Linked DNA regions of Homo sapiens: regions 2, 3, 4, 5, 6 and 7 are each linked to region 1. The links are contacts of gene promoters, found by promoter capture Hi-C in human tissues and cell types (Jung and others, 2019). All regions are on one chromosome and are shown on one strand. The core of a region is centred on a gene start or on the middle of the fragment in contact, and the rest is flanking DNA. Distances in the headings are between cores, read along the strand shown.

Region 1 (2,804 bases), core at 211-2,710:
TGGTCACATAAAGTTGGAAAAGGTTCTGGAAGGCCCTGAATTCTGGATTTACAGTGTGTATCTTAATCAATAAGCATTGGAAGCCATTAAATATTTTTGAGCAGGTGTGTGACTACATACGGGATTTTTTTTTTTTTTTTTTTTTTTTTGAGACAAGGTCTTGCTCTGTCACCCAGGCTGGAGTGCAGTGGCATGATTGTGGCTCACTACAACCTTACACTCCTCCCACCTCAGCCTCCCGAGTAAGTTAGGACTACAGGTGTGTGTCACCATGCCTGGCTTTTTATGAAGACCATCTGGTGGTAGTGGACAGGATGCGATGGGAAGCTTGGAGTTGGGGAGGCTAATTAGGAAAAGTCCTGTAGAAACTATTGAATATCCAACTGAGGTGAGAACAGAGAGAAGGGAAACATAGTTCTCAATTCTGTGAGAACCTCTGTCTTGGAACAGTACTTGTGTGATATTCATTTGATTTTAAAATGTCCAGGAACACTTTGATCCTTCACTTTTCCCATAGTCTCCTGACCATTTTTCCCAGAAGAGATAATGGAAAAGAAAACTGCAGTATAACTTGCTGAGTGACCTGGGGCAGTTATTCTGCCCCTTGATACTTTATCTAATTTAAATCAGATAATAATGCTTTACCTGCCTGAAGGCAGAGGACTGGAATACTGATTTTTTTTTTTTTGAGACAGGGTCTTGCTGTGTTGCCCAGGCTGGAGTGCACTGACGCAATCACGGCTCACTGCAGCCTTGACCTCCAGAGATCAAGAGATCCTCTTGCCTCAGCCTCTCAAAGTGCTGGGACGACAGCCGTGAGCCACTGTGCCTGGCTTATCTTGCTGATCTTTTCAACTCTAAGAGTGAATACTTTTCTTTTCTTTTTAAAATTCTTTTTCGGAACCCTCAAACACCTACTCTCTTCAAACAGCCATTCCAGCCCAGTCTGGGGAAAACTGCTTGCTGGGGTTCACCGTGGGGGCTGTACGACTTCCCCAGCGCCTCTCGGAGATGTGGTTCAGGCTGGGAAGAAAGGTCTTCAAATCTCAACTGGAAAACGAAGCTATGTCTGCGTTAAGCGTCCAGTGGCTCCCGTGATATTTCACGCCTACTGGTTTCGTCAAGCAGGGAGTCGGGTCGTTGCTGTTGGCGACGAAAGGCTCTGAGGCTAAAGCCTTGGGCGTCGCCCAAACCAGCCTCTACTTCGCTTCTGCCTAAAACCACACCGTTAGGCGCCTGGGTGGTGACTCGGTTTCCCTCGGTCACCCAGAGTCCGCATCATCACTCGCCCCCTCCTCATCCCACCCGTTCCCAGTCGGGGGAGGCACCAGGCACCAGTTCTCTGGCCCCACCTCTCGCTCCCCTAGGGAAGCCGAATGGCCTCTTCGCGTCCCTGGCTTCTCGGGGGCGGAGCCCACCTGTGCCCGGGGCGGGGGCGGGGGCGGGGCCGGGGGCGGGCCAGGTTCCGCGAGCAGGAGAGCCCAGAGCCCGGAGCCCGGTCCGGGGCTGGCGGGGGCGCGGGCGGAGGCAGGCGGGCGGGCGCCGGGGAAGCCTCCTTCTGGGCAGCGAGTGAGGGCGGGCGCGCAGGGAGGGAGGGCGGCAGCGAGCCTGCGACGGGAGAGGCGTGGGGAGGAGAGCCCGGCGCGGAACACACGCGCGGAGGAGGAGCCGGGCTCGGCTCCCGGAGAGACCTGCTGGGCGCCCGCGCAGCCCGGAGACCCCTCGCGCCCGGAGCATGAGCCCGAGCCCCGCCGGAGAGCGGCCGGGAGAGACGGCCTCGGCGCAGCCCTGAGACGCTGGGCCGGGACGCGGGGCGCCCTGGGCGCGGGGCCCGGCCGGGGGGCGGCGGCTCGGGGGGTTGGAGCCCGCGCTGGCGGCGGCCGCCTCGGCGCAGCGCCATGGGGAGCCCCCGGGCCGCGCGGCCCCCGCTGCTCCTGCGCCCGGTGAAGCTGCTGCGGAGGCGCTTCCGGCTGCTGCTGGCGCTCGCCGTGGTGTCTGTGGGGCTCTGGACTCTGTATCTGGAACTGGTGGCGTCGGCCCAGGTCGGCGGGAACCCCCTGAACCGGAGTAAGTAGCACCCAGGGGAGGCGAAGGGCGCGGGGGTGGGCGGCGGCGGCGGCTCCTGCGTTGGGGGGACCCGCCTCTCATCCCATCCTCAGACCCGATTTCCCACCCATTTCTCCCTCAGGTGCCCGGCGTCGCCCCGCGCGTACTCGGGGAGAGCTGCGGGCGGGGGAAGCCGCGGGGCCGAGCGCAGAATTCCCGAGCCCGGGCCTGCCCGCCGGCCACGTGGGTCCGGGGCACCCTGGGGGCTCCTCGCGTCTCCCCTCGGAGAGCGACCCGGAGAGAGGCTCCCCGCCCGTCCCGCCGAGACGCTGGCGGAGACCGGGCCCCTCCAGCCGCTCCGGGCTTGCGGTTCCCGGGGAGGAGGTCCGTGGGGTCCACGCGCGAGCTAGGGATTCGGGTGCGGGATGCCCTCGGCCGTCCACACCCAGGCGCGCGCTCCAGTCCGCGCAGCCCAAACTTTGCCCACCGCCTTCTGTTTGGCTCACTCCGTTTCCTCTCCTGCTGCATCTTCTAGGGGGGTTCTTTTTTACCATACCTCGGAGAGTCCCGTCTCTTCCCCGCTTCCCATACGTCGCTCCTCTCCCAGCCTCCGTCCTCGGCTCTTTGAATCTCCCACCTCCTCGCTGCGCCCTCTTTCTCCTGTTCGGGCCGCCCCTTCTGCCACTTTTCTGAACCCTGAGCAAATCTACCAAACTCCCCAGTTTAAGGAGATGATGGACAGCACAGTGGACCGGGCA
Region 2 (2,804 bases), core at 196-2,695, 470 kb after region 1:
GCCTGTAATTCCAGCATTTAGGAGGCCGAGGCAGGCAGATCACGAGGTCAGGAGTTCAAGACTACCCTGGCCAACATGGTGAAACCACATCTCTACTAAAAATACAAAAAAATTAAGCCCGGGCGTGGTGGCTCACGCCTGTAATCCAAACACTTTGGGAGGCCGAGGCAGGCGGATCACCTGAGGTCAGGAGTTCGAGACCAGCCTGGCCAACATGGTTAAACCCCATCTCTACTAAAAATATAAAAATTAGCTGGCCATGGTGGTGCATGCCTGTTATCCCAGCTACTTGGGAGGCTGAGGCAGGAGAATTGCTTGAATCCAGAGGGTGGAAGTTGCAGTGAGCTGAGATCGCACCACTGCACTGCAGCCTGGGTGACAAAGCAAGACTCAGTCTCGAAAAAAAAAAGAAATAGAACTGGGTGGCATGCACACAGGGGCAATAGGAAATAGGGAGATTTTCACAGTTTCATTTTGAATTTGATGTCATACAAATATGTTATCTATCCCCCCCCACAAAAAATTTAAAATCTAAATCTAATCCCCAGTACTATCAGTCTTTTGATAGCTAACATTCCAAAATGCCCTCCAGAGTTCACAAGACTCCCAAAAAATGCATCTAAAGGAAAAACCAATAACAAATAGCTCACACATGTACTATGTAAACGTACTAGGTACTGCCCCCGCACGCACCGCGTCAACGTACTAGGTACTGCTCACACACGTACTAGGTAAACGTACTAGGTACTGCTCACACACGTACTAGGTAAACGTACTAGGTACTGCTCACACATGTACTACGATGCTCTACAAACTGCCTTGCCCTAACTTTACTCACTTCACCTCATTCTTTCCCGGCATGAAGGAACCACAGTTACCTGTCCAAAGCATAACACTGAGCCGCCGCCAGCAGCAGGATGGCTGTCACGTCCTCCAAGAATTGCTTCCTCAGTCCCAGACATCTTGATTCTGGTTGACCTCTATATAAATAAAAAGCGGAAAAAAAAAACAACCCTCAAAGAATGTTTAAAGTAAAAGGCAAGAGCCTCTACTGAAAAATCACATAAAGAATCCTTATGCGGCCAGGCACAGTGGCTCATGCCTGTAATCCCAGCACTTTGGGAGGCCGAGGTGGGTGGATCACAAGGTCAGGAGATGGAGACCATCCTGGCTAACATGGTGAAACCCCCTCTCTACTAAAAATCCAAAAAAATTAGCTGGGCATGGTGGCAGGCGCCTGTAATCCCAGCTACTCGGGAGGCTGAGGCAAAGAATTGCTTGAACCCAGGAGGCGGAGGTTGCAGTGATCTGAGATCACACCCTGCACTCCAGCCTGGGCGACAGAGCGAGACTCCATTTCAGGAAAAAAAAAAAAAAAGAATCCCTATGCAATACCCTAAGAGTTATTTATAAGCTTCTAAGCACTGCTCCAATCCAGAACAGAGTTCCTCAGTGGTTAGCTGTGGTCTCTCAAGCTGCTGAAGATTCTTTAAGGTCTACTTCTACCTTTCTGTTAACATGTTTGCTATTCTGGCGGTGCTATTAAAGGTGATTTTTACAATAAGAATATATTACATTTAGAACTATAAAATCAAAATTACAAAAAATTCTTTATGGGAAAGCAAACAAAAAATGTACTATAGGTGGAACATTGCTAATCCAAAAATCCAAAATTCAAAATGCTCCAAAATCCAAAACGTTTTGAGTGCCAACATGATGTGTTATAGTCAAAACACAGGTAATGGCCAGGCATGGTGGCTCAAACCTATAATCCTACCACCTTGGGAGGCCAAGGCAGAAGGACTGCTTGAGCCCAGGAGTTTGAGACTAGCCTAGACAACAAAACCCCATCACTACAAAAAATTTAAAAATTAGCCAGGCGTGGTGCTATGCTACTTAGGAGGCTGATGTGGGAGGATCGCTTGAGCTCAGGAGTTTGAGGCTGCAGTGAGCTATGACCACCCCATCGCACTCCAGCCTGGGTGACAGAGTGTCTGACTCTGTCTCAAAAAAAAAAAAAAACAAAAAAAAAGGCAGGCACACAACACACAGTTTATTCAGCTTCTCCAAGAGAAAAATTCAATTATCAGCCAGACGCAGTCACTGACACCTATAATCCCAGCACTTTGGGAGGCTGAGGCGGGCGGATCACCTGAGGTCAGGAGTTTGAGACCAGCCTGGCCAACATGGTGAAATGTCTTTATAAAAATACAAAAATTAGCCGGGTGTGGTAGTGCGAGCCTGTAATTCCAGCTACTTGGGAGGCTGAGGTAGGAGAATCGCTTGAACCTGGGAGGCAGAGGTTGCAGTGAGCTGAGATTGTGCCACGGCACTCCAGCCTGGGCGAGAGTGAGACTCCATCTCAAAAAAAAAAAAAAAAAAAAATCATCTTTAGGCTCTGAAAACAAATGAATTTCATGTTTAGACTTGGGTCCCCTTCCCAAGATATCTGATTATATATATTCAAATATTCCAAAATCTGAAGTCCAAAACACTTCTGGTCCCAAAGCATTTCAGAGAAGCAATACCCAACCTGTACTAGCTAAGAGGGTAACTGGGAGGTGGTGGATATGTGAATTACCTTGACTGTGGTAATCATTTCACAGTGCATTCACATATCAAATCATCACATTGTACACCCTAAATATATACAATTTTTGTCAGTCATACCTCAAAAAAGCTGGGGGGTAGGGAAGAAAAATCAAGTGAATCTGTTTTAAAGTTTAAAAAAACCGGCCAGGTGTGGTGGCTCACACCTGTAACCCTAACACTTTGGGAGGCCAAAGCAGGCGGATCACCTGAGG
Region 3 (2,804 bases), core at 132-2,631, 420 kb after region 1:
AACTTGTCCTTTCATGTGGATAGACTTCTACCTTTTCTTCTAAGGGTAACCAACCCTTGAAGTAGGTTAATCTCATTGCAGAAATGAAGTGAAGATCACCTCATTGGTGCATATGCATTATTTAATGTAAATGGGTACGTTACTGACAGCAGTGACAATCCAAAGTTTCACTTCTAGTCTTACCAGTCCAAAATTGATGTAACAGGTATTAGAAATAACAGGTTAAATAAAGGTGCTCTGGTAACTGAACCTATGACATTCCCTAGAATTGTGTCAGCTATGTCTGATATTCTAGGTTTGAAACTATGCTTTATTTTCATGTAGATTTCTGCACTGTTTACTGTGTGGAATGTTTTTTTTTCTTAAGTAGTCCTCCTAATCACTTGAGAAGTACCCTGTAGAAGGTATGCTTTTCTGAATGACCTTTTTTCAACTTTATTTTTGAGTACTGTTGTGCATGTATGTGCACAGTGTATTGTTACCCTAATATTTCATCACATCTGAGATGCTATCAACTTTAAAATGTACCATATTTTATGTACCACATTATCAGTTATAAAGTAGATCCCAATTTCTCACATGTTAAAATGATCAGGTAGTGGAGAGGGATGATTGCATCCTAGAATGAGTGAAATATGTGAATTATACCAATTTTTATTGAGCCATGTTGGACTTAAGAATTTTAGAAATAATACGAATGAAATCTTAATTCCACTGGGAAGGAATTCATTTGAATTTCAGTAACTACTGTAACAGCAGTCGTAACTTTAGTGATAGCATTATGGTATATAAAATATATTCCAATAAAGCTGTTAAAAAAAAAAGCCAACCCCTTGTCTATGGAAGGGTCCTCTTCTATTGCCAAATGCTGAAGCATTAGCAAATATTTCTATGACAAAAGGTGTAGAACAGTAATAGTCTATTTAGCCTCTTTCTCTCCTGCTCTCCTTTCCATATTCTTATGTGGCATATTAACTTAACACTAATGTATGCAGGGTTTTGTTGGTTTGGTGTTTTTTTTTTTGTTTGTTTTTTCCTTCTTTTTGGCTAATACATAAATCTTGCTTTTGGCAGCCTTGCTTTTTTTTTTTTTTTTTTTTTTTTAAGCCTGTCTGTTTTGTTTTTCTTTACCTTCCCAGCTTCCAGTTTCCCAGCCAGTACCAACTATCCAAGGCGAACCTCAGATCCCAGTTGCGACACAACCCTCGGTTGTTCCAGTCCACTCTGGTGCTCATTTCCTTCCAGTGGGACAGCCGCTCCCTACTCCCTTGCTCCCTCAGTACCCTGTCTCTCAGATTCCCATATCAACTCCTCATGTGTCTACGGCTCAGACAGGTTTCTCATCCCTTCCCATCACAATGGCAGCTGGCATTACTCAGCCTCTGCTCACGTTGGCTTCATCTGCTACAACAGCTGCGATCCCGGGGGTATCAACTGTGGTTCCTAGTCAGCTTCCAACCCTTCTGCAGCCTGTGACTCAGCTGCCAAGTCAGGTTCACCCACAGCTCCTACAACCAGCAGTTCAGTCCATGGGAATACCAGCTAACCTTGGACAAGCTGCTGAGGTTCCACTTTCCTCTGGAGATGTTCTGTACCAGGTATTGTGTTAGTTAGCAAAAGAGGGCACCACAGAGTTTGATCCTAGTAGATCATCAGGAACATGGAAATCTAATAGTTGAGTGTCAGAATAACTAGCAATAACATGTCAACTAGAGAAGCAAAATAGTAAAATTCTGAGAAAGGATTGGATAATGATGTTCAGTGATTCCTGATCCATTTTTCTCAAGACACTTCTTCAGAGAAAAATGGTTCTCTCAGTATTCACTGTAAGCTGATTGAATGCTAGATGTGGTTAATAGTACACCTGGCAACTTTTACATATATGGGTAGAATAAATAGAATAGCCAACATGGTATCAACAAAAAGCTTCGGGGTTTAGACTGGGAAAATTAGCATTTCATGATATGACTGTTATGTGGAAGAATTTTTGCATTTTTCCATTTAAGATTGGCTAGGAAGAAATTGTGTTCCTCCTATTTAAATCATCTCTAGGTGAAGATAACCGACAATAAAGTAGTATTGTAGAGTCCTGTCTCTTCTGTTGGAACCAGTCTACTACTTCATTTCAAGAATGTGGTCTTTATATGCCCTTTAGATTATTAGAAAGAGATTGGCTACTATTCTTCTTTGCTGTGTGCTTCTTTTTTTTTTTTTTGCATGTCTTGCTGTTTTGCTAATTTATTGACCCCCAACCTGCTCTAACTCACCTTCCTCATTTCTGTCACAGGGCTTCCCACCTCGACTGCCACCACAGTACCCAGGAGATTCAAATATTGCTCCCTCTTCCAACGTGGCTTCTGTTTGCATCCATTCTACAGTCCTATCCCCTCCCATGCCGACAGAAGTACTGGCTACACCTGGGTACTTTCCCACAGTGGTGCAGCCTTATGTGGAATCAAATCTTTTAGTTCCTATGGGTGGTGTAGGAGGACAGGTTCAAGTGTCCCAGCCAGGAGGGAGTTTAGCACAAGCCCCCACTACATCCTCCCAGCAAGCAGTTTTGGAGGTAAATAGAATTACTGCATGTTTATATGTAAAACGTATATATGTAATTGGACAACAATGATAAAGGAGAAAGAAACAGGCTCCCCTGGTTTAGAACTTATTTGGAGACCATGTCAAACTAACTTCTGCATGACTTTTTCTTACAGCAGAATGAAATGCCAATGTGGGGTCCTTGTTTCCACTGGCTGTTCTGTTGGGAAGTGAGTGTGCCTTGGAGAAGATGAACCCTATTAGCACTT
Region 4 (2,804 bases), core at 145-2,644, 390 kb after region 1:
ATAGTCTCACTCTGTCGTTAGGCTGGAGTGCAGTGGCATGATCTTGGCTCACTGCAACCTCCGCCTCCCAGGTTTAAGTGATAACTCCTGACTCAGCCTCCCGAGTAGCTGGGACTACAGGCATGTGCCAACATGCCCAGCTAATGTTTGTGTTTTTAGTAGAGACGGGGTTTCACCATGTTGGCTAGGATGGTCTTTCTTGACCTCCTCGTGATCTGCCCGCTTCGGCCCTCCAAAGTGTTGGGATTACAGGCGTGAGCCACCGCGCCTGGCTGGCTAATGGATTAATTCTAACTTTGACATAGAATTAACATTTCTGTTATTTGAACAAGGAAGGACTCTTAATCTGGTTTATTCTAGATCTGTGATCCTGTGGTCATTTAGTAGGTGTGGAGAACTATTAACCGTTTTTGAGCAGTGTGATTATGAGTTAAATGATACCAGATGATTGGAAATGGTTAAATGTCAGATGCTTAAATGGAGTCAGATGGTAGGAGCTAGCCACAATGTAAAACACAAATTGGAGATGAAGAGAATGGAAATATGAGGCCCATCTTAAACTGGTCTAGGCTTAAAGAGATGAGGTATTAGAAATCAGAACTTTGATGGTTACTTTTGTAATACAAAAACAATGACTTGTGAGGCAGCAAAGAAGCCAGTAAAAACTTTTTTTTTTTTTTTTTTTTGCTTGGTCAGAGATCTTTGGCTGTTGGAGAAGAGTAAGAATACTAGTCACAAAACCATTTCCCAGTTGTTTTTAACTTTATCTTTGTGTTAAGAGCCCATAGAGAATAATAGTAGTACTTAAATATTGTGGGGGAAGAAGCATCCAATGATGACTAAGGTTTCTTCTCTGGACTATGGAAATAATGACACGATTGAAAGAAATAGGGGAAATCCAGAGAAAGGCACTGACTTTGAGAGAAAGAGGAATAAGTTTAGATATGTAAACTGTTATCTGTGAATGGTACTTTTGTTGTAATATATTGAAAACTCTTATTTTGATTTATAGAAAAGGTTGCTCTTTATAGAATCTAGATATTTGTGCCTACATCGTACCTTTGTCTCCTCAAGCCCCCCAAAGCCCCCTCAGTTTGGTTTATTTGTTGCCTAATAGAGTTTTAAAACTACCCACATCTTTATATCTGATGGACCTTTGAGGCAGGACACGTGGCACTTGTTTTCTAGCTCTTTCATTTAGCCAAGCATGGTCCTACACAGGCTTGCTCATACAGTTAAGTTAGAGGTAGGCTGCACTTTTGCAGCACACATTGCTGCATTTCTGAGCAATACCTGACATCCTAGACTACTTAGTAGTAACAAATTGTGTTGAGCCAGAGATTAGTGGTAGTTGCTTTGAGATAGCTTGTTAGAATTAGTAGCATTTCTAACCTTTAGATGTATTACTTCCAAACAGCTTCCAAGCCATTATCTTATGTACTGTTGGTAATTGAAGCCTTAGCATTCACTGTCTTGATCAGGATTCAAGCTTACAAAATTACAAGGGAGAGAGGACTTTAATCTGTTACCCATTACAACAAAGCAATGAGCAATGCTGTTTCTACAATCTTTGTTAATGCCCTGAAGAAAAACTTTCCCTTAATCACTAAAATTAAAGTAGTTTTTATTTGGGTCTATGAGATCTTCCTGGCAAATGGAATGTCTTAATTTTGAGACTTTTATAGGAGGGAGAAGAAGAGGCAAAAAATTTGTACCACTTGTGTACATAAATACTGTTGATTTTTTTTTATTATACCTTAAGTTTTAGGGTACATGTGCACAACATGCAGGTTAGTTACATATGTATACATGTGCCATGTTGGTGTGCTGCACCCATTAACTCATCATTTAACATTAGGTATATCTCCTAATGCTATCCCTCCCCCCTACCCCCACCCCACAACAGGCCCCGGTGTGTGATGTTCCTCTTCCTGTGTCCATGTGTTCTCATTGTTCAATTCCCACCTATGAGTGAGAACATGTGGTGTTTGGTTTTTTGTCCTTGCGATAGTTTGCTGAGAATGATGGTTTCCAGCTTCATCCATGTCCCTACAAAGGACATGAACTCATCCTTTTTTATGGCTGCATAGTATTCCATGGTGTATATGTGCCACATTTTCTTAATCCAGTCTATCATTGTTGGACATTTGGATTAGTTCCAAGTCTTTGCTATTGTGAATACTGCCACAATAAACATACATGTGCATGTGTCTTTATAGCAGCATGATTTATAATCCTTTGGGTATATACCCAGTAATGGGATGGCTGGGTCAAATGGTATTTCTAGTTCTAGATCCCTGAGGAATCGCCACACTGACTTCCACAATGGTTGAACTAGTTTACAGTCCCTCCAACAGTGTAAAAGTGTTCCTATTTCTCCACATCCTGTCCAGCACCTGTTGTTTCCTGACTTTTTAATGATCGCCATTCTAACTGGTGTGAGATGGTATCTCATTGTGGTTTTGATTTGCATTTCTCTGATGGCCAGTGATGATGAGCATTTTTTCATGTGTCTTTTGGCTGCATAAATGTCTTCTTTTGAGAAGTGTCTGTTCATAACCTTTGCCCACTTTTTGATGGGGTTGTTTGATTTTTTTCTTGTAAATTTGTTTGAGTTCATTGTAGATTCTGGATATTAGCCCTTTGTCAGATGAGTAGATTGCAAAAATTTTCTCCCATTCTGTAGGTTGCCTGTTCACTCTGATGGTAGTTTCTTTTGCTGTGCAGAAGCTCTTTAGTTTAATTAGATCCCATTTGTCAATTTTGGCTTTTTTTGCCATTGCTTTTGGTGTTTTAGACATGAA
Region 5 (2,804 bases), core at 91-2,590, 370 kb after region 1:
CAAAAAAAAAAAAAAATTCCTTTGTCTTCCATTAAACCATATATTTAAAAAGATTACAAAAATGTAAAACAATACCAGTCTTATCACTAAATTTTTCTTGTTTTGGAAAATACTGACTTTTTAATTTTAAATATATATTTGTAACATAATGAGTTATAATTTTTAATGAATTAACATTTTTAAACTTTCTCAGGTTTACCATCTGCCACGGTAAATATTAATAGATGTAACACACATAGACAAAATCCCTCTGAGGTCCCCAATAATGTTAATTTTAAGAGTATAAAGGGGTCCTGAGACAAAAGTTTGAGAACCACTGTTCAAAAGTCTTGATAAAATTTAGGCTAAACATTTTTTGCAAGGATACTTAATATGTGGTGCTGTATATGTTATATTGCACCGAGAAGCTCATAGTATCTCATTATTTCATTTTTAGTGATGTAATTTAATTGAATTTTGATATAGAAGATGTAATTATCAATTGCTTATTTAGATTTTGATAGCTGAACAGAATGGAAATGTTTATTTTTAATTTTTTATTTATTTATTTATTTTTTGAGACGGCGTCTCGCTCTGTCGCCCAGGCTGGAGTGCAGTGGCGCCATCTCGGCTCACTGCAAGCTCTGCCTCCTGGGTTCACGCTATTCTCCTGCCTCAGCCTCCCAAGTAGCTGGGACTACAGGTGCCCGCCACCACACCTGGCTAATTTTTTGTATTTTTAGTAGAGATGGGGTTTCACTGTGTTAGCCAGGATGGTCTCGATCTCCTGACCTTGTGATCTGCCCACCTCTGCCTCCCAAAGTGCTGGAATTACAGGCATGAGCCAGAAATGTTTATTATTAAAAACTGATAGGAAACATTTTGCTTTAGGTAGACCAAATTTTACCTCTTCATAAAGGCTTGGGAGAAATCTTTGGAGTCAAAGATTAATTATAATTATTTATTGCTGTGAATATTCCTTCAATATCCTTGTTGTATATTTGTATGTGATTCTGTTGTTGATGGATATGGAGCTACTTTGGACAATTAGTTTAATTTCATATGAAGTTTGAGGTTTCATACCCAGTAAAAATGACAGCTATTGTTTATGGAGAAAGTGTGTAACTCTCAAGTTACTTCTGGCTTTGTAATTGGGATGGTATTTTGTCAGTTATTATTATTAGGTGTATGTCTACAAGTGTCTGGCCTGAGGCCTTACTGTTAAATTTATTAACCTCTTCTTAATACTCACCCAGATTCTAATACACAATATAATTGTAATCCCTGAAGCACTGACTCTCAATTTGGGCTGAATGGGGGCAGGAGAAATTTTTTTATGCCTTCAGATGATTCTGATAAGTACCCTAATCATTATTCTACATTTATGCCCTTAGAAAGCTCATCTGCTTTGCCTTTCAGAGTTCTGTATCATCATTCCCAGTTCATGTCTCTTATTATTCCCCTTTCTTCCCCTGATGCGTTGTAATTTACATTCTCTCTTTTTTTTTTTCCTTTGAGCATAGGGTCGACTGTTTATTGGGTAATTTCCTCCTTTATTTTGTTTAAAATTGTAGAAAACTTAAGAGGTATATTTGATTTCTTGTTTTTTACTCGCTGCTTCCACTACTTCCAGTTTATAAGGTTCTTGCTTCAGAATACCTCTTAGATGCAAGCCTTCTTCATTCCCATTGCCACAACTCTGATTTCACATCTTCCTTACTGCACACCTTGCATTATATTCCAGAAGTAATTTACATTGTGAATTTATTTTTTTATTTCACTTAAACTTGTTGAGCTTTCTTGCTATCCTTTCTTGGTATAAGGAACTTAAGATACCAGTTTGCTGATATCAGAGCAAGTACAAATTCTTAATCTTTGCTATTCTTCATCTTCATCCAAGCACTCTATTTTAGTTAAATCAGTTCTCTTCATTATCTCGCACATATGCCACATCCTTTCCTGTATTCCTATCCATTTGTAAATGTTATATAATACTGTACCTCCACTATAAGCTTTTCTGCTATCCAGTCAATCCATATACTTAACGGTCTTCCTCCATGACATTTTATCTGATTGGTTTCACTGTATAATGATCTTTGCCTTTTCTGAGCTGATTCTTCTCAATTGATATGAATGATAAAATTTTGTTTATTAGTGGTTATTCTACTTATAAATTCATAAATTCAATTAATGTACTTGCTTATTATTTTTATTGCTTTATATTCCTTAAAATATTTTAATCTAGTACATCTGTATAATTTCATCCTTATCTGTAGCACTATCCTAAATACAAAATAAATCTCAGTGCCAGTAAATGCAACATTTTCTGAATCCCTGCTATGTCCCATGCCCAGAGCTTGATACTAAGTAAAGGTGAATAATCATATTCCCTGTCTTCAGAAAACTACCTCTAATATAGAAGATTAATATGTAAACAAAGAATTATAATTACATTATGGTGAGTATTGTAATGGAGACAAGCACTAAGGAGAGTGGAGGAACAATGGATAACCCTGCTATGGATTAGGGAAGATTTCACAAAAAGAGCTGTTGTATGAACTGTCAAAAAGAGAAGGTAGAAGAATGGTGAGAGGCCATTCTAAGAAGCAGGAATAGGATTTACATGAATGCTGAGATGCCAAACACCGTAGTACAATGGAAGGAAAGGCAAATTGATCAAATAGAGTGAAGCTGTTGTCTTGGACAAATCAATTTTTGATCCAAGGACAAATCAATTGCTACTTAGTTTCTCCTGCTCCCAAATCCTGTCTCATCTCAGAGCAGAGAGTTTCCGGTTGGTAATTAAGAGGCAAACTTCTGACTGC
Region 6 (2,804 bases), core at 211-2,710, 330 kb after region 1:
ATCACAGTTTTAAAAAGACAATCTTTTGATGTCTCATATCTTAGTGTTACTATGAGTTTATAGCCTGTTATTTTGTTTAGTGTTTACTCTGTCTTGCCTTTCTTTTTTCCTTCCTTCCTTTCCTTTTCTTTCTTTTCTTTTGGAAGGGAACTTAAGTACATCTTCTGGTTCTTTCTGCCTGATCTCTTCCTCTTAATTTTAGAAATGAAGATGTAGAAGTCCAAAGAGGATTTACTTGATGATTTGACTAGAAAAGCTAGGTTTAACCAGGTCTTCTATGGAAATGAATTATAGCTGTAGTGAAAAAATAAGGGAAATGTGCTATGTTTGGATTCTAGAGACAGTTCTCTAGAATAGAAAATCTTCTAAACCCAAGACAGCTTGATATTTGAAAAAGGGGGTATAAAACCTTTTTTTAAGGATTGGCAGATCGTAGTAAATATTGTGGATGTCATAGTACCACAATATATAATAATTAAGTAACATACTTAGAATAGAAATCTAGAAATGTCAGTAACAGAATTTTACTATTTCTCTCACCACACACACACACACACACACACACACACACATACACAAAATTATGAACACATAATAAAGGACTTCCTTATAACTAAGAAAAAGATAATACATGAATAGAGAGGCCTATCTGGAAATTTTCATGTATATGCACAACATTTCAGTGATAACAGAGTGGCTGTTATAAATAATGATCGTAAAGTGCGGTTATAAATTATATCATGTATGTGAAAATTATTTTTTGTACAGTATGGTTCTTTATCTAAAACGTAGATCTTTGCTTTTCTATAATAACATTCTCTTCTAGGTTTCAGCTTATACTTGACGCAAGAGGTTCTTTGAGAGAGCTTCTTTTTTAAAAAAAAAAAAACTACATTTCCTATTACATTTTATATCTAGCCTGCCACCCTAAGATGGAAATCCATTTTAGTTCATCAGGTATTTATTAATGGTTTCACTTTGTGAAAGATATTGAAGAGGGCAGATAAAATTGTCATTTACAGCTTACTTAGCATAGTACATTGTGCTTAAAATATATGACATTAATATAAATGATGCCCTTTCTTGATAATTTTTTTTATCTCTAATCTTAAATTGGGGGATGATGTTTCTTTTTAGCCTTTTTATTTTTATACATATGGTTGTCCAAGAGTCATGTATTAACCCAGGTTTAGAACACATCATAATGTCACTGCCTCCACTTCCCAGACTCCAATAGGGAATAGCAGCTTTATTCTACCCAGGTCCTATCAGAGGGTGCACAACAGATGAGGGGAATTGCAGGATTTCCCAGTACACCAAACTGTTGGTCAGCCTTCCTGCCTTTATTCCCCATGTAGACCTAAATACAGAAACTTTTTAATTATCTTGGTTATACCTAAACATTGCTACTCCCCTACGCTAGCCCCGCAAAAGTGAGAGAGCTTGTCAAGGCAAAGTTTTTTGAAGGAAGAAGCCACATGAAATGAGAGAGGGAAATAATGTATACTGTGAGCTTAGGAAGAGCAAAGGTATAAAGGTGATAGAGAGATTGGCACAGAACTACAGTAGTATATGTATTAGTTCTGATTAATAAATGTTTCAATTTTTATGATACTGTTATTCTTTTTTTTTTTTTTTTTTTTTTGAGGCGGAGTCTCACTGTGTCACCCAGGCTGGAGCGCAGTGGTGCAATCTCGGCTCACTGCAGCCTCCGCTTCCCAGCCTCAAGTGATTCTCCCTGCCTCAGCCTCCTGAGTAGCTGGGACTACAGGCACCCGCCACCACGCCCAGCTAATTTTTTTGTACTTTTAGTAGATGTGGGGTTTCACCATGTTGGCCAGCCTGGTCTAGAACTCCTGACCTCGTGATCCGCCCACCTCAGCCTCCCAAAGTGCTGGGATTACAGGTATGAGTCACCACGCCCGGCTGATACTGTTATTCTTGTAACAAAAAAGCTTACAATGAGGAATACATTTATATTGTTTTGCTTAAGATTAAAGCCATATAAAAAATTTACAGCAGAACCTGGAAGTTCTTTCTTGACCCTAACCTCCTTTACTCCTTTGCCCAGAGGCAACCATATATTTGTATGTATTTCCAATTCTTCATGCTTTTACACAAATATGTACTCACATTAAAAAAAATATATATAAACATATTATTCTATGACTTTTTTTTTCTTTAATTCATAGAGTTCTTAATCAGGTCTAGTGAACTCAGGACAAGAGACACAACTTGGATATAAATACCTTTAAGCCTCTGTTTTCTTCATGTGTAAAATGAGGGTAATGTTTTAGTGTTATTACAAGGTTTAAATGAGACTACATGTGGACACCTTAGCCTGGTAACTAAGTCACGGTAGCTGCTATTATTAATAAACAAGGCTAACATGCTTCTATATGATCCTCCTGTACCTAAGAAATAAACTTATAGCAATAGAGCACAATCAGCCAGCCATTTAATTTTAGAGAATAACATCTTCATGTGGCCTAGTAAAAATGACTGTTACCAAATAATAGGCTTTTTATGATGAATGAATGAGTCAGATGTTTTCTCTGTAGTTTTTAGAATCATTGAGATACCAAATTCTTAGCTGTTTTATGGAAGAACTTTATAAAGTAGAGTTTACTGAAGTTGGGTGACTAGAAAAGCCTATAAAGTTAAAAAGGAGAAAACGTGTTGGTTCTCCTAATTAATGTAAATTAAAACAAGGAGACTGCCCACAAGAGCTAAATAGTAAATTTCGGTCAAAAATAATGATAGTATTTCTTTTTTCAATTGGTAGTAAAACATTGGAAATAATT
Region 7 (2,804 bases), core at 129-2,628, 280 kb after region 1:
GTCGCCCAGACTGGAGTGCAGTGTCACAATCTCAGCTCACTGCAAACTCCGCCTCCCGGGTTCAAGCACTTCTCCCGCCTCAGCCTCCCAAGTAGCTGGGATTACAGGTGCATGCCACCACGCCCAGCAAATTTTTGTATTTTTAGTAGAGACAGGGTTTTGCCATGTTGGCCAGGCTGGTCTCGAACTCCTGAGCTCAGGTGATTCACTCACCTTGGCCTCCCAAAGTGCTGGGATTACAGGTGTGAGCCACTGCACCTGGCCGAGACTACTATTTAAAGAGTATTATTACTGTCTTAAGAGAATGTATACTTCTATCTACTGAGAAGTATTACCTGCTATAGAGTTTGGCACTCTTTTCCTAATTCCCAGCTATTCTAAGGGAGTCAATTTACCATATCTTCAATTGGTCCAAACACAGGCAGACGCTGGAAGATGATAATATTATTGCTGTTGTTGAATTTGCTAAATACTCTTTTTGGTTACAGAATTAACCTGACTGTAGAGGTTAATTAAGCAAAGTATGTTCAGTAAAATTATCTTAAGATTCAGAAAATTGGCTGGGCGCGGTGGCTAACGCCTGTAATCCCAGCACTTTGGAAGGCCGAGGTGGGCAGATCACCTGAGGTCGGGAGTTCGAGACCAGACTGGCCAGCATGGTGAAACCCCATTTCTACTAAAAATACAAAAATCGGCCAGGCGTGGTGGTAGGTGCCTGTAATCCCAGCTACTCGGGAAGCTGAGGCAGGAGAGTTGCTTGAACCTGGGTGGCGGAGGTTGCAGTGAGCTGAGATTGCGCCATTGCACTCTAGGCTGGGCGACAGGGCAAGACTCCGTCTCAAAAAAAAAAAGATTCAAAAAATTATCACTGAATGTCAAATTATGAATATATAAGTAGCATACAGAATGTGCCTTGATCATAAATGACTAAATAATGTAAGCAAACTCTTAGAGATCATAAGGAGTTGGGAAGCTTGTCCTTCTATTTACTGGTAAGGAGGTACTCAGGTGAACATTATGTTCAGAATCTTTTCAATATCTGTCTTGATAGCTATCCCTATCCCTCCCAACCATCGAAATGGATGAAAATGACCATTGCTTAAAGGTTTTTCAAACTGAATTAGTAATATCATTTTTTCATTTTTACCATAGAGTGTATGTAGACTTTTCAGGTAGGTTTCATATCTCTTGGGTATTGAGACAAATAGTTTGTAAGCAGAATAGGATGCTTTATAGAGTATTCAATAATTCAATATTATGTTTCAATAATTTTGGCACAACTAAATATCATTTTAAAAATCTGATTTCTTGAAGAATAACTTATATACAATAAAAAATTGCCCATTTAAAGTATAGTCAGGGCCAGGTGCGGTGGCTCACACCTGTAATCCCAGCACTTTGGGAGACCAAGTTGGGATAATCATTAACATAGCAAGATCCCCGTCTCTACGAAAAAAAAAAAATTAGCTTGGCATGGTGGTGTGCATCTGTAGTCCCAGCTACTCAGGAGGCTGAGGCCTGAGGATCCCTTGAGCCCAGGAATTTGAGGCTGTGATGAGCTATGATTGCACCACAGCACTCTAGCCTGGGCAACAGAGCAAGACCCTGTCCTTAAAAAAAAAAGTATAATCACCCACTTAATGAGTTTTGAATGAATACAGTCATGTAACCATCACCAAAATTAAGACAGAAAACATTCTCGTGACTCAAAAAGTTCTCTGCGCTCCTCTGCAGTTCATTTCCTCCCCCTCTAACCCCAGAACTGATCATTCTGCCGCCAGTTTTGGGTTTTCTACATGGCCACATAAATGAAATCAGTAGACTTCTGTGTCTGGCTTCTTTCATTTAGCATCATGCTTTGGGAGTTATCCATATGATTGCACATACCACTTCGTTTATTTTTATTGCTGAGTAGCATTCCATCATAAGGGCACAACACAATTTACTTGCCTGTTCACCAGTTGATAGATATTCGGTTTGTTTCTAGTTTTTGGCTATCATGAGTAAAATTGTTATGAAATTTTCCATGCAAGTCTTTGTGTGGACATGTTTCCATTTCTCTTGGGTTAAATATCTGGCAGTGGAATTGCTAGATCATGTGGTAAGTATATGTTCAACTTTAATTATTAGAGAGTCAAGCTATTTCCCAAACTGGCTGAACCACTGTACTCCCGGTAGCAACGTATGAGAAACTAGTTGCTCTACATCCTCACCAACCATTTTTAATTTTAGTCATTTTCGTGGGTATGTGGTGATATTTCATGGTAATTTTAATTTTCACTTCCTTAATGACTAATGATGTACATCTTTTCATGTGCCTATTTATCCTTTCATTTATATTGTTTGGTGAAGTATCTGTTCAAATCTTTTGCACACATTTTTACTGTACTATTATCTTAAGGTTGAATTGTAAGAGTTTCCTATATATTCTGTTTACAAATATTTTTTCAGATATTTGTTTTGCAATATTGACTCCCAGTCTGTGGCCCTTTCATTTTTGTAATATCATCTTTAAAGAACAAACATTTCTGGCTGGGCACGGTGGTTCACACCTGTAATCCCAGCACTTTGGGAGGCTGAGGCAGGAAGATTCCTTGAGCCCAGGAGTTTGAGACCAGCCTAGGTAACACAGGAAGACCTTGTCTCTACTCTGTAAAAAACAAACCAAACAAAAAAGAACACGAACTTCCAATTTTGATGAAGTCCAGTTTAACAATTTTTTCTTTTATGGTTTGTGCTTTTTGTGTCCTAAAAAGTCTTTTATTTTTATTTTCTGTAGAGACAGGGTTTTGCTATTTTGCCCA

Evidence for each region. The method cuts DNA at HindIII sites, captures the fragments that hold promoters and counts their contacts. A contact is called where the count stands out against the background at its distance.
Region 2: a fragment that was not itself captured here is called in contact with the fragment with the promoter of B4GALNT3 in region 1 in 3 of the 25 tissues and cell types used here (dorsolateral prefrontal cortex, mesendoderm cells and spleen).
Region 3: a contact is called between a fragment that was not itself captured here and the fragment with the promoter of B4GALNT3 in region 1, in 2 of the 25 tissues and cell types used here (dorsolateral prefrontal cortex and lymphoblastoid cells).
Region 4: a contact is called between a fragment that was not itself captured here and the fragment with the promoter of B4GALNT3 in region 1, in 2 of the 25 tissues and cell types used here (dorsolateral prefrontal cortex and lymphoblastoid cells).
Region 5: a contact is called between a fragment that was not itself captured here and the fragment with the promoter of B4GALNT3 in region 1, in 1 of the 25 tissues and cell types used here (dorsolateral prefrontal cortex).
Region 6: a contact is called between a fragment that was not itself captured here and the fragment with the promoter of B4GALNT3 in region 1, in 1 of the 25 tissues and cell types used here (dorsolateral prefrontal cortex).
Region 7: a fragment that was not itself captured here is called in contact with the fragment with the promoter of B4GALNT3 in region 1 in 1 of the 25 tissues and cell types used here (heart right ventricle).

What each region holds. Positions count from the first base shown.
Region 1 is chr12:458,479-461,282 of GRCh38, forward strand. B4GALNT3 (beta-1,4-N-acetyl-galactosaminyltransferase 3) reads left to right here and starts at 1,461. Exons shown (of 20, transcript NM_173593.4): 1 at 1,461-2,067. The coding sequence starts at 1,899. RefSeq lists an enhancer at 629-1,612. The HindIII fragment of the contact is 8,839 bases long and covers 108-2,804 here.
Region 2 is chr12:932,097-934,900 of GRCh38, forward strand. RAD52 (RAD52 DNA repair protein) reads right to left here. Exons shown (of 12, transcript NM_134424.4): 2 at 879-980. The coding sequence starts at 962. LOC124902855 (a long non-coding RNA gene) reads left to right here. Exons shown (of 2, transcript XR_007063155.1): 1 at 1-709; 2 at 745-2,804. Among named protein-coding and RNA genes, the nearest start is that of RAD52, 16 kb to the right of the region's middle. The HindIII fragment of the contact is 6,084 bases long and covers 1-2,804 here.
Region 3 is chr12:878,434-881,237 of GRCh38, forward strand. WNK1 (WNK lysine deficient protein kinase 1) reads left to right here. Exons shown (of 28, transcript NM_018979.4): 11 at 1,140-1,598; 12 at 2,288-2,566. Among named protein-coding and RNA genes, the nearest start is that of RAD52, 70 kb to the right of the region's middle. The HindIII fragment of the contact is 5,036 bases long and covers 1-2,804 here.
Region 4 is chr12:847,831-850,634 of GRCh38, forward strand. The region is part of intron 4 of WNK1 (WNK lysine deficient protein kinase 1); the gene reads left to right. Among named protein-coding and RNA genes, the nearest start is that of WNK1, 97 kb to the left of the region's middle. The HindIII fragment of the contact is 6,164 bases long and covers 1-2,804 here.
Region 5 is chr12:831,537-834,340 of GRCh38, forward strand. All of the region lies in intron 4 of WNK1 (WNK lysine deficient protein kinase 1), which reads left to right. Among named protein-coding and RNA genes, the nearest start is that of WNK1, 80 kb to the left of the region's middle. The HindIII fragment of the contact is 7,038 bases long and covers 1-2,804 here.
Region 6 is chr12:790,686-793,489 of GRCh38, forward strand. All of the region lies in intron 1 of WNK1 (WNK lysine deficient protein kinase 1), which reads left to right. Among named protein-coding and RNA genes, the nearest start is that of WNK1, 40 kb to the left of the region's middle. The HindIII fragment of the contact is 7,452 bases long and covers 1-2,804 here.
Region 7 is chr12:741,822-744,625 of GRCh38, forward strand. No RefSeq gene overlaps it. Among named protein-coding and RNA genes, the nearest start is that of WNK1, 9.4 kb to the right of the region's middle. RefSeq lists an enhancer at 1,535-1,654. The HindIII fragment of the contact is 8,426 bases long and covers 1-2,804 here.